Regions from separate parts of the Homo sapiens genome. Here regions 1, 2 and 4 are each linked to region 3. Evidence: promoter capture Hi-C in 16 types of primary human blood cells and fetal thymus (Javierre and others, 2016). All regions are on one chromosome and are shown on one strand. The core of a region is centred on a gene start or on the middle of the fragment in contact, and the rest is flanking DNA. Distances in the headings are between cores, read along the strand shown.

Region 1 (2,700 bases), core at 153-2,652, 7.7 Mb after region 3:
AGTGACTGGAGGAGTGAGAGCAGAGGGGTACGTGGGTGGGAGATGAGATCAAAGAGGCAGGAGTGGGAAAGAGTGGGTCAGTTTATGTACTGTCTGCCATACAGGCCATGGGAAATCTTTTCATTCTAAGACAAGAAGTCATCAGAAGGCTGTGCACCTAGAAATGGCTTGATGCAACTCATTATTTTTTTTTTTTTTTTTTTGAGACAGAGTCTCGCTCTGTCGCCCAAGCTGGAGTGCAGTGGCATGATCTCGGCTCACTGCAACCTCCGCTTCCCAGGTTCAAGCGATTCTCCTGCCTCAGCCTCCCGAGTAGTTGGGATTACAGGTGCGTGCCACCATGCCCGGCTAATTTTTTTGTATTTTTTTTTCAGTAGAGACAGGGTTTCACCATGTTAGCCAGGATGATCTCAATCTCCTGACCTTGTGATCCACCTGCCTTGGCCTCCCAAAGTGCTGGGATTACAGGCGTGAGCCACCACACCGGCCATGTTTTTGTTTTTGTTTGAGATGGAGTCTTGCTCTGTCACCCAGGCTGGAGTGCAGTGGCATGATCTTGGCTCACTGCAAGCTCCACCTCCTGGGTTCAAGCGATTCTCGTGCCTCATCCTCCCGAGTAGCTGGGATTACAGGCACCCGCCACCATGCCCAGCTAATTTTTGTATTTTAGTAGAGACAGTGTTTCACCATGTTGGCCAGGCTGGTCTCGAAATCCTGACCTCAGGTGATCCTCCCACCTCGGCCTCCCAACGTGCTGGGATAACAGGTGTGAGCCACTGCGCCTGTCCTTGATGCAACATATATTTTAAAAAGATTTCCCTGGCTGCTTTGTAGGTGGCAAGATTGGAAGCAGAGTGGCTGTTTAGCAGGTTTTTGTAGTAGTCTGGTTGAGATACAGTGATGGCTCAGAGACCATTGAAATGTTATCAGTGGCAGTGGAAGGAAGCGGTGGGTTTGAAATCTTTTCAAGGAAGAGTTAGCAGGATTCAGTCTTGGAGTGTAAGCGGAAAAAAAAGGATTCATGCTTTTTAGGGAGAGCCTGTGGAAGAATGGGCTTTGTAATTACTGAAATGGGGAAAGTAGATTTGGGGCTTGCAAAATCAAGGGTGGGTTTGCTTATGTTAAGCTTCAGGGCTTACTGGACGCAGCATAGATGCCATGCAGGCAGCTCAGTATAGAAGTCTGGAACTGGGAGGTCAGATCAGCATTGGAGGAAAATTTGGAGAGCCTTCAATGTAGAGATATAGAGTCTTGTGACTGGATGAAATCCCCTAGGGAATAAATATAGCAAGGACAGAAACCTGAAGCACCCTGATACCTAGAGGTTTACAGCAGGAGAAGGTATGGCAAGGAAATGTAGGTTGAACAACAGCAGGATAGAAGGTGAACTCAGGAACTCAGGAAGAAAAGTACCAAAAAGATCTGGCCATGAAGATTAGATAGGTATGTAATAGTTTCTACATGCATTTTCTCATATAATTCTGTTTTTTTTTTCTTTTAGTGCAGTTCGAGTACTTATACTTACATAGTTAAGCTGCTTTCTAATCAATGCTTGTTTGTAAAAGTACCATTCTTTATGCATATATGCATTCTTTATGTAAAAGCACACTTTACGCATATAGATTTTTCTGTATTTGCTTAGGATAGATTCTCAGAGACAAGATATTTCTGAAGCTTTCAGACACTCACAGTGTTTGGTAGTATTCATTTCATTGTACTCTTTAAGAATGGTTAATTTTTATTTTAAATAAATGTTTTCGCTCATTTATTTTACAAGTCGTAGAATGTTGCTTTTCATTGTGAAAATTTTCAAAAATACATGCCACTAATCTACCCCTATTGTCGCACAAATATTTTCTTTTTTTTCTTTGTTTTCGAGATGGAGTTTCGCTCTTGTTACCCAGGCTGGAGTGTAAAGGCGTGATCTCGGCTCACTGCAACCTCCACCTCCCGGGTTCAAGCAATTCTCCTGCCTCAGCCTCCCGAGTAGGTGGGATTACAGGCACCCGCCACCATGCCTGGCAAATTTTTTTGTATTTTTCATAGAGATGGGGTTTCACCAGGTTGGCCAGGCTGGTCTCGAACTCCTGACCTCAGGTGATCCACTTGCCTTGGCCTCCCAAATTCTGGGATTGCAGGCGTAAGCCACCGCGTCCCACCACAAATAATTTCAAGTAAATCCAGGACTTCATGTCATTTCACCCTTGCATAATCTCATGTAATTCTAAAAAATACTGATACTTTCTCCCTTATATAACCTTAATGCAAAGTTATATAAATTTTACAGTGATTTCTTTGTATACTGGACTGCTTTATTGTCATTATATTGAATACTTGTAAGAGTGTACATTTTCACCATAGCATGATAATTACCTTGTTCATTTCTATATTTCATACTTTTAATCTATTACTGTGTTGATTTTTTCAGTTTTTATGGACTTTGCAAAATAATAACATTTACCTGTCTATTGGTTCCCAGAGGGTGCTTTTACTTTTTTTTTTGAAACAGGGTCCCACTCTTGCCCAGGCTGGAGGGCAGTGGCACTATCACGGCTCACTGCAGTCTTGACCACTTCCTGGGCTCACGTGATCCCCCCACCTCAGCCTCCTGAGTAGATGGGACTACAGATGCATGCCACCACACCTGGTTAATTTTTTGTATTTTTTGTAGAGACGGGGTTTTGCCACGTTGCCCAGGCT
Region 2 (2,723 bases), core at 47-2,546, 9.4 Mb before region 3:
CGTCTCTACTAAAAATACAAAAATTAGCTGGGCATGGTGGCGTGCGCCTGTGGTCCCAGCTACTTGGGAGGCTGAGGCAGGAGAATCGCTTGAACCTGGGAACCGAGATCGCACCACTGCACTCCAGCCCTGGGCGACAGAGCAAGACTCTGTCTCAAAAAAAAAAAAAACAAAGAAAGAAAATAGGGCACACTTGTCCCCAGACCACAGTTAAAATCAATCAGAAATAAGAGGGCACAGGCATGTGAGTTTTTCAGAGAAATGCTGGAAAACTCTAGGAACTGGGGTTCTGAAACATGGAGCTGCCCCTCTCACCACCTCCCCGCCTCCCATGTCAGGTACCTCTTTCTTCCCCAAAAGGAATTCTATTCTTGAGGTTACTTCCTCTTGTCGTCCAGGTAGTGTGCACGGAGAGCACTTCTGGCTCCAAAACTGCCATCTCGTGACTTGTGAAGCCTTCTTCTTGGTCATTTTCACAATAGCGTAGAGCCTCTCACGTCACTTTGGGACCACTGCTCCCTAGCAGGTACCACATGGCTGGAAGGCCAAGGCACAGGAAGCAACGGAGACACTAGAAAGACAGGTGACATGGTCGCACACACCTGTGCTCACTCAAAAGGCCATGCACCCAGGCCCGATCCCGACCAGTCACAGCCGCACACTCGCTGGCCCTTTCACACCCACAGACGCTCACACCAGAGGGACACTGCCTGTCCCTGTCAACCTGACAGAAGTGCAAAGGCACATTTCAGAGACACGGAGACCCGTCCTGGCCGTGCCACCTCTGCAGACCCCACCAGCATTGACCTCGCACAGAACGGAGGTGCAGAGACACAGCCCGGCTGCGTCACCCCTACAGATGCCCTTACAGCCCGGCGCTATGGCCCTCATAGACGTCTACACACACCTGTGTCACAGTTTATGGGGACAGAGCCCGGCCGCGTCAACCCCGCATGCATCACGGCTTAGGGGAACGGGGCTTGTTCGCATTACCCCACAGACGAAGACAATTATCTCAGTCACTGGGCCACGGCGGGGCCCCACCAGGCAGCCTCTGGCTTATTCACACACACACACACACACACACACACACACTCACACACACTCCCACTTCCCTGCTCGCCGCTCCCGAAGCCTCAGGCCGAAGCTTCTTCATTTTAGGGCCTCCGCGTCCCGAGTGGCTCCCTCACCGCCATTCCCCGCGGAACCCTGCCCTGGCTTCCTCCTGGGAGGCAAATAGCTCCCGGCTCGAGGCCTAACCACACCCAGCACATCAGGAGGTGAAACAAGGTCTCAGGCGCAGTTGGGATAAGATCCAGGAGAAACCATTTTTAAAAATCCCGCGAGCATGAAGCACGCCCCTCAGCCGGCCACCCGGCTCGCTCCTCATTGGACTGTGCCCCAAGGCCCTCTGGGAAATGTAATGCGAAACCAGAGAAGCTTCGACGCAGCTGGAAGGGCGCCCGTCAGTGTTTCCCAGCATGCAACTCTACACGGCGCAAATGGAGCCGTGACCCAGAGGCCTCTGGGAAATGTAGTCCATAACCCGGAAATCCACAGAGTTGGAAGCGGCTGTCAGGATTTCCCAGCATGCAACTCTACGCGACCCTAAGGGCGTCCTGCCTTGAGGGCTTCTGGGAAATGTAGCTCATAACCCGGGAATCGACGTATCTGGAAGGGCGCCCATCAGTGTTTCCCTGCAGGCAACTGCACACGGCCCTAATGGAGCCATGCCCCAGAGACCTCTGGGAAATGCTCACTACGCGGGAATCCTTAGCGCTGGAAGCGCGGCCGTCAGAATGCTTTTCGTCGGTGTCTCCTCCCACTGTTAGAGCAGCTGCACCCCCCATAGACTTCTGGGAAAGCGTATTTCAGACTGGCAGAATCTTCAAATGCTGGAAGCCCTGTCGGCCTTCTCCTGCCCTGAAACTTTGCTTGCTCCTAAGGCGCACCACAAAAAATTCCTGGGAAAAGTGGTTCAGGCTCTAGGGGCCTACAGTTATAATTGCTTACAACTTGCATTTGGGATCCGTCCATAGGGAAGGCGTGTCCCCGCGTCCTTCTGGGAAGGAAATGTAGTCTGAAACGACCAGAAATCACGCCTGTAATCTCAGCACTTTGGGAGGCCGAGGCGGGTATATCACCTGAGATCAGGAGTTCGAGACCCTCCTGCCCAACATGGTGAAACCCCATCGCTCTAAAAATGCAAAAATTAGCCAGGCGTGGTGGTGTGTGCCTGTAATCCCAGCTACTTGGGAGGCTGAGGGAAGAGAATCGCTTGAACCCAGGAGGCAGAGGTTGCAGTGAGCCGAGATCACACCACTGCACTCCAGCCTGGGCGATAAGAGTGAAACAATGTCTCAAAATAATAATAATAATAATAATAAGCCCGGAAAGCTTAAAAGCTGTGATTTGGGAAAAGTTCAAAAATTTCCCAGCATGCAACATGGCCCTCCTTAGAAAAGAGCTGTGCCTCCAGAGCGTTCTTGGAAATACAGCCCCGAGCTGGAAATGCCTCTAGAAAGTGTTAGGTAGGGTGTTTACATGTGAGATTTTGGGGACGTTTCAGCACTGCCCTTTCCCCCACCCCCCAGTAGATTGGGGAGCTCCAGGCATGTGTGTAGGGACCTTGAGTAGGTTCCACGGGAGTGACCTGGTCCTGACTGGGTCTGTGCCAAGGCTCTCTCTGTAAGGGCAGGACTTTGCGTTTCGTTCTCTGATGC
Region 3 (2,700 bases), core at 74-2,573:
CCATTACTATCTTTACATCCTGATTTCATAGGTAATTACAATTTTTGTATCTTCGTATTTCTGTAATTTCTGAATGCTTCACAGTGATACGGTTCTATTAGAATGTGAAATATTTGTAATAAATGAAACAAAATAGTTGACAGTTTTTAAAAACTGAGAAAACTCCAAGGCAATTAGCCTTGCTCTTAAGGTCCTTTAATCAAGTTCTAACTTACTTTCCCCACCTGAGTACAGCTAGTTCCTCTGCCTCAATGAGAATATATCCAAGAGATGATCAACTCGGGCTCTGACCCTGAATGCCTAGGTTCCAACCCAAGTTTCACCTCTTACTACTTGGATGACCAGTACCTCTCCACAGAGTCACGTTGCGGCTTAAACGTATCTAATTGTATAAATCCCCTAGAATTGAAGTTAGCAATTAAGGCTTAATTATTATAAATGCCCATGCCCTATTACACATGCTACAAAGATACAGTCTCTGTAAAAGAAAAATGACAAGTCACACTCACGTGGAGCTTTGCTTTCAGTAGCCAAGAAGTCAGTCCGCGCAGTCCTTTTTCAGGCTGGGGAAGGAGAAAGCTGTGAAACATCCTGACTGGGTCGCTGTCCCTGAGAAAAGTTAAATGCTCCCCTCCCTTCGTGGAAGTGGACGCAACCCTCGCCTGCCTAAAAAGAGGTCAGAAGGCGTCCGGGATCGTCCAGCGTCCTGCAGGGATCAGAGATAAGGGCTGAGGCCCCTGCTGCTGGAGCTCTGACCCCACCGGGGGACCTAACAGGTTTCGTGGGAAAGTAACAAGAAACCACCACTCACCAAGTGACAGGGACTGTTTGTGTTGTGTAACCTATTCCAGTTACCAAAACGATTCTACAAAGATGGTCCTAACGTCCCCATTTTAAAGAACAGCAAGGAGAGGCCCAGGGAGATTAACACGCCAACCTTGCACTGTAAAAAAGTGACTGCGCGCCTGGAGTGCAGGGAGGCGGAGTGGGCGAGCTCAGAGCCCCGGAAACCCTCAAACCAGGCGAGACGCGACCCAACCAAGTCCCAATGCCCCCCGCCTCCCGCCGCGGGACACGAGGGGAGCCCCAGCCCAAGAAGGCTCCGCTGACACAACAAAAGCCGCCGCCCTCGCCCCACCAAACCTCTGCTCTCCCACGAGGCTTCTTTTCCCATAACCGGACCACCAGGTCCCAGCGAGCCCCAATCTTAAGTCCCTGACATTAGGAGGGGCCCGCGAGTCGCGGAACTGGAAGAAACTACCGTGGAATGTGCCGTGACAATCGCCCCCTCTTCCCTGGAGCGGAAGTGCCCGCGACTCCACTGATTGGCGGGACTACATTTCCCAGAATTCCCCGGATCCCCCTGCGTGGGTCAAATGGACCACGACTCCACTGAGCGTTTGGATTACACTCAGAATGCTGAGGGAAAAACGTTCAGAATCTCACCCTTCAGGGAAAAGCGATGGGACTCCGCGGTGCTCCTTGCCTACGATTCCCGCACTGCCCATGGGGAACGAATCCTATATCGCTGAGCGCTTGGTAGGGAATGTGGACTGTGACCCTGAGAGTCGTCCTTCCCTCTGCCTGAGTCCTTGAGCGAAAATATTGAATAGACAGCAATTCCTGAAGTCTAAACGCCTCCCAGGACTACGGAGGATTATTGGAAAGAGAACAAGCGAGGAGATACAATCTTCAAGGACTAAATGGGGAATGACTTTTTAGGGGTCAGTAGATGATTGATGATTGATTACTATAAACTGATAATATGAGGCCAAAACTAAAAGTTGGAAGAGTGAGCAAGTACAATGGTTTGGGAGAGGCAATGAAGAACAAAGAAGGTGCCAGCCCCTACTCCAGACGCTGTGGTACCACTGGTTTGGCAGGAAAAACAATCATCATTTGAGAGGGCCAGTGGGGAAGCCCTGTCCTCATGGAAAAGCTATCTTCTTTCGTTTACACTTTTCATGGTATTATGTCTACTGAAGAGGTAAAAACACCAAATTTCAGAGAAGCTCTTAAATTGCCCAATACTTCAAAGCAAGTATAACTGGTGAAGCGCTTGGCATTGATGTCAGACACCCAATGCCTATGATTTATTTAATGCAGTAGCATTAAGGAGGATCCTATACGTGAAGGAACATATTTTATTTTCTTCCTTTATATTTTTTGGTTAAAATATCGTCATTATAGTTAGCAATTTGGAATCTGGCTTACATTGGTTGATACAAATAAATAATAGAATAAAGCAAAATCAGAAAAAAACCCATCTAAAATCTTTCTTCAAGATAACCAGGGGCTGGGTGCGGTGGCTCACGCCTGTAATCCCAGCACTTTGGGAAGGCCAAGGCGGGCGGACCATGAGGTCAAGAGTTCGAGACCAGCCAGGAGAACATGGTGAAAACCCATATCTACTAAGAATACAAAAATTAGCCGGGCATGGTGGTGCGTGCCTGTAATTCCAGCTACTCGGGAGACTGAGGTAGGAGAATCGCTTGAACCTGAGAGGCAGAGGTTGCAGTGAGCCGAGATCATGCCACTGCACTCCAGCCTGGGCGACAGAGCAAGACTCTGTCACGGAAAAAAAAAAAAAAAAAAAGATAACCAGATTTTTTTCTCCCCATAAACATACATTGGCCTATTGATATGGTTTAGATCTGTGTCCCCACCCAAATCTCATGTTGAAATGTAATCCCCAGTGTT
Region 4 (2,700 bases), core at 59-2,558, 7.6 Mb after region 3:
GTTAAGTTTTTCATCTGTGCATCAAATCCCAAATAATAAATGGAGCTTTTTTCTTTATCGGTCCCTTGGGCACAGGAGGTCCCGAACACCCTTCTCTAGGATGCTGCATTGAGAGTTCAAACATCGGGCCATGCGCAGTGGCTCATGCCTGTAATCCCAGCACTTGGGAGCCCGAGGCGGGTGGATCACCTGAGGTAAGGAGTTTGAGACCAGCCTGGCCAACATGGTGAAACCCCGTCTCTACTAAAAATACAAAAATTAGCTGGGTGTGGTGGCGAGCGCCTGTAATCCCAGCTACTCCGGAGGCTGAGGCAGGAGAATTGTTTGAACACAGGAGGTGGCAGTAAGCCAAGATCGTGCCACTGCACTCTAGCCTGGGCGAAAGAGCAAGACTGTCTCAAGGAAAAAAGAAAAAGAGTTCAAACATCAAATTAAAAAATATTAAGAGGAAAGCTTCATTCTGTGACTCTAGTCCCGTGACTGTAGTCCCTTCATTCTACAGGGGCTGTTTACCTCTTTTTGCTAGTAGCAAGATCATATAACTACAAAATGTGGAGAAACTGTTTGCCTGTGGTAGATACCTGCACACATAGGATTGAAGACAGTACAGGCTCCTGTGAGACACCTCTGTCCTCTCACATCTGTTTTTTTTGTTTTGTTTTGTTTTGAGATGGAGTCTTGCTCTGTCACCCAGGCTGGAGTGCAATGGCGAGATCTGGACTCACTGCAATCTCTGCCTCCCAGGTTCAAGCGATTCTCCTGCCTCAGCCTCCGGAGTACCTAGGATTACAAGTGTACACCACCACGCCCAGCTAATTTTTGTATTTTTGGTAGAGACTAGGTTCCACCATGTTGGTCAGACTGGTCTCGAACTCCTGACCTCAGGTGACTCGCCCGCCTCTGCCTTCCAAAGTGCTGTGATTACAGGAGTGAGCCACTGCGCCCGGCCCCTCACTCACATCTGAATTGCATACTGAGTGGGCAAGTTGGTTATAAGTTCAGTAAAACCCTCTGATGATGCAAAAAAAAGTATTATGTTTCACAAGCTGTTTGTACTCAAATACATTTTCTCAGTTTCAGATCCTTTCCTATTTTATTGAGTGGAAAGTCTTGAACTAAAAGTGTTCAGGAAGAATAATGTTGCATTTCCTTATGTCTCCTGAAACACTTTTTTTTTTTTTTTTTTTTTGAGATGGAGTCTTGCTCTGTCGCCCGGGCTGGAGTGCAGTGGCACGATCTCGGCTCACTGCAGGCCCTGCCTCCCAGGTTCACGCCATTCTCCTGCCTCAGCCTCCCGAGTAGCTGGGACTACAGGCACCCGCCACCATGCCCGGCTAATTTTTTGTATTTTTAGTAGAGATGGGGTTTCACTGTGTTAGCCAGGATGGTCTCGATCTCCTGACCTCGTGATCCACCCGCCTCGGCCTCCCAAAGTGCTGGGATTACAGGCGTAAGCCACTGCACCCGGCCGTCCCGAAACACTTTTAATGGTAAGTTGTCATATTGTCTATGAAGAAACCCATTTTTTTAAGACATTAATAAATTCTTCTTTTCTTCATGTGATACTTTATACAAGAACACTTCAGATGTATTAGATTTGACTGATTTTAAACAAATCCTATTAGATTTGTATCAACTAGTTACATGTTCTATTCATAGACTTTTGTGAATCATTGCCTTTTTGTTTAAAAAGATGGCCTATTTTCCAGGCACAGTGGCTCATGCCTGTAATCCCAGCACTTTGACAGACCGAGGCAGGCAGATCACCTGAGATCGGGAGTTCGAGACCAGCCTGACCAACATGGAGAAATCCCGTCTCTACTAGAAACCCAAAATTAGCCACGCGTGGTAGTGCATGCCTGTAATCCCAGCTACTTGGGAGGCTGAGGCAGGAGAATTGCTTGAACCCAGGAGATGGAGGTTGTGGTGAGCCGAGATCATGCCATTGCACTCCAGCCTGCCTGGGCAACAAGAGCGAAACTCCAACTCAAAAAAAAAAAAAAAAAAGATGGCCTATTTCAAGCCTTTGCATAGTACATTCCTGTTTTTGTGACAAAAGAAAAACTTTAAAATTGCCCCAAACAGAAAAATAATGGCTATATGTTTTATTCTATTTTAACTTTTTTTTTGAGATGGAGTCTTTGCTCTGTCACCCAAGCTTGAATGCAGTGGCATGATCTTGGCTGGCTGCAACCTCTGCCTCCCAAGTTCAAGCAGTTCTCCTGCCTTGGCCTCCCGAGTAGCTGGTATCACAGGTGTGTGCCACCATGCCTAGCTAATTTTTGTATTTTTAGTAGAGACGGGGTTTCACCATGTTGCCCAGGCTAGTCTCAAACTCCTGACCTCAGGTGATCAGCCCACCTCAGCCTCACAAAGTGCTGGGATTATAGGCGTGAGCCACCAGCCTGGCCCAGTTGATAGTTTCAACTATGTAAATCATTACACTGATTCCTACTGATCATTCTCATTGCCAGCATTCCTGAACTTAAATTGGCTCTGGAAATTCTCCAACCATAGTGAATCCTATTTTCTATGACCCCATAAATATTGGGCATTGTTGCGGTATGTTAGAATACGAGCCCGTGGTTGGGAAAGGCAGTATCATATATGCAGTCTTTCTACCTCTATGTGGCCACATAAGAATGACATCTGACCTGCAACATTTCCTTACCAAGAGATACGGATCCCACATGGGCTGTG

The links. The method cuts DNA at HindIII sites, captures the fragments that hold promoters and counts their contacts. A CHiCAGO score of 5 or more calls a contact.
Region 1: a contact is called between a fragment that was not itself captured here and the fragment with the promoter of ZNF234 in region 3, in 1 of 17 cell types (non-activated CD4 T cells). The highest score is 6.6, in non-activated CD4 T cells.
Region 2: a contact is called between a fragment that was not itself captured here and the fragment with the promoter of ZNF234 in region 3, in 3 of 17 cell types (non-activated CD4 T cells, naive B cells and activated CD4 T cells). The highest score is 11.7, in non-activated CD4 T cells.
Region 4: a fragment that was not itself captured here is called in contact with the fragment with the promoter of ZNF234 in region 3 in 4 of 17 cell types (non-activated CD4 T cells, activated CD4 T cells, naive CD4 T cells and 1 more); the score reaches 9.6 in non-activated CD4 T cells.

What each region holds. Positions count from the first base shown.
Region 1 is chr19:36,468,717-36,471,416 of GRCh38, reverse strand. The region is part of intron 4 of ZNF566 (zinc finger protein 566); the gene reads left to right. Among named protein-coding and RNA genes, the nearest start is that of ZNF566, 19 kb to the left of the region's middle. The HindIII fragment of the contact is 548 bases long and covers 1,129-1,676 here.
Region 2 is chr19:53,519,704-53,522,426 of GRCh38, reverse strand. It overlaps a transcript of ZNF331 not described here. Among named protein-coding and RNA genes, the nearest start is that of ZNF331, 17 kb to the left of the region's middle. RefSeq lists enhancers at 381-1,154, 1,465-1,664, 1,155-1,928, 1,929-2,703. The HindIII fragment of the contact is 293 bases long and covers 1,150-1,442 here.
Region 3 is chr19:44,140,177-44,142,876 of GRCh38, reverse strand. ZNF234 (zinc finger protein 234) reads right to left here and starts at 1,323. Exons shown (of 6, transcript NM_006630.3): 1 at 1,144-1,323; 2 at 510-563. RefSeq lists enhancers at 836-885, 551-1,141, 896-1,295. The HindIII fragment of the contact is 9,485 bases long and covers 1-2,700 here.
Region 4 is chr19:36,493,983-36,496,682 of GRCh38, reverse strand. No RefSeq gene overlaps it. Among named protein-coding and RNA genes, the nearest start is that of ZNF566-AS1, 5.7 kb to the right of the region's middle. The HindIII fragment of the contact is 1,705 bases long and covers 456-2,160 here.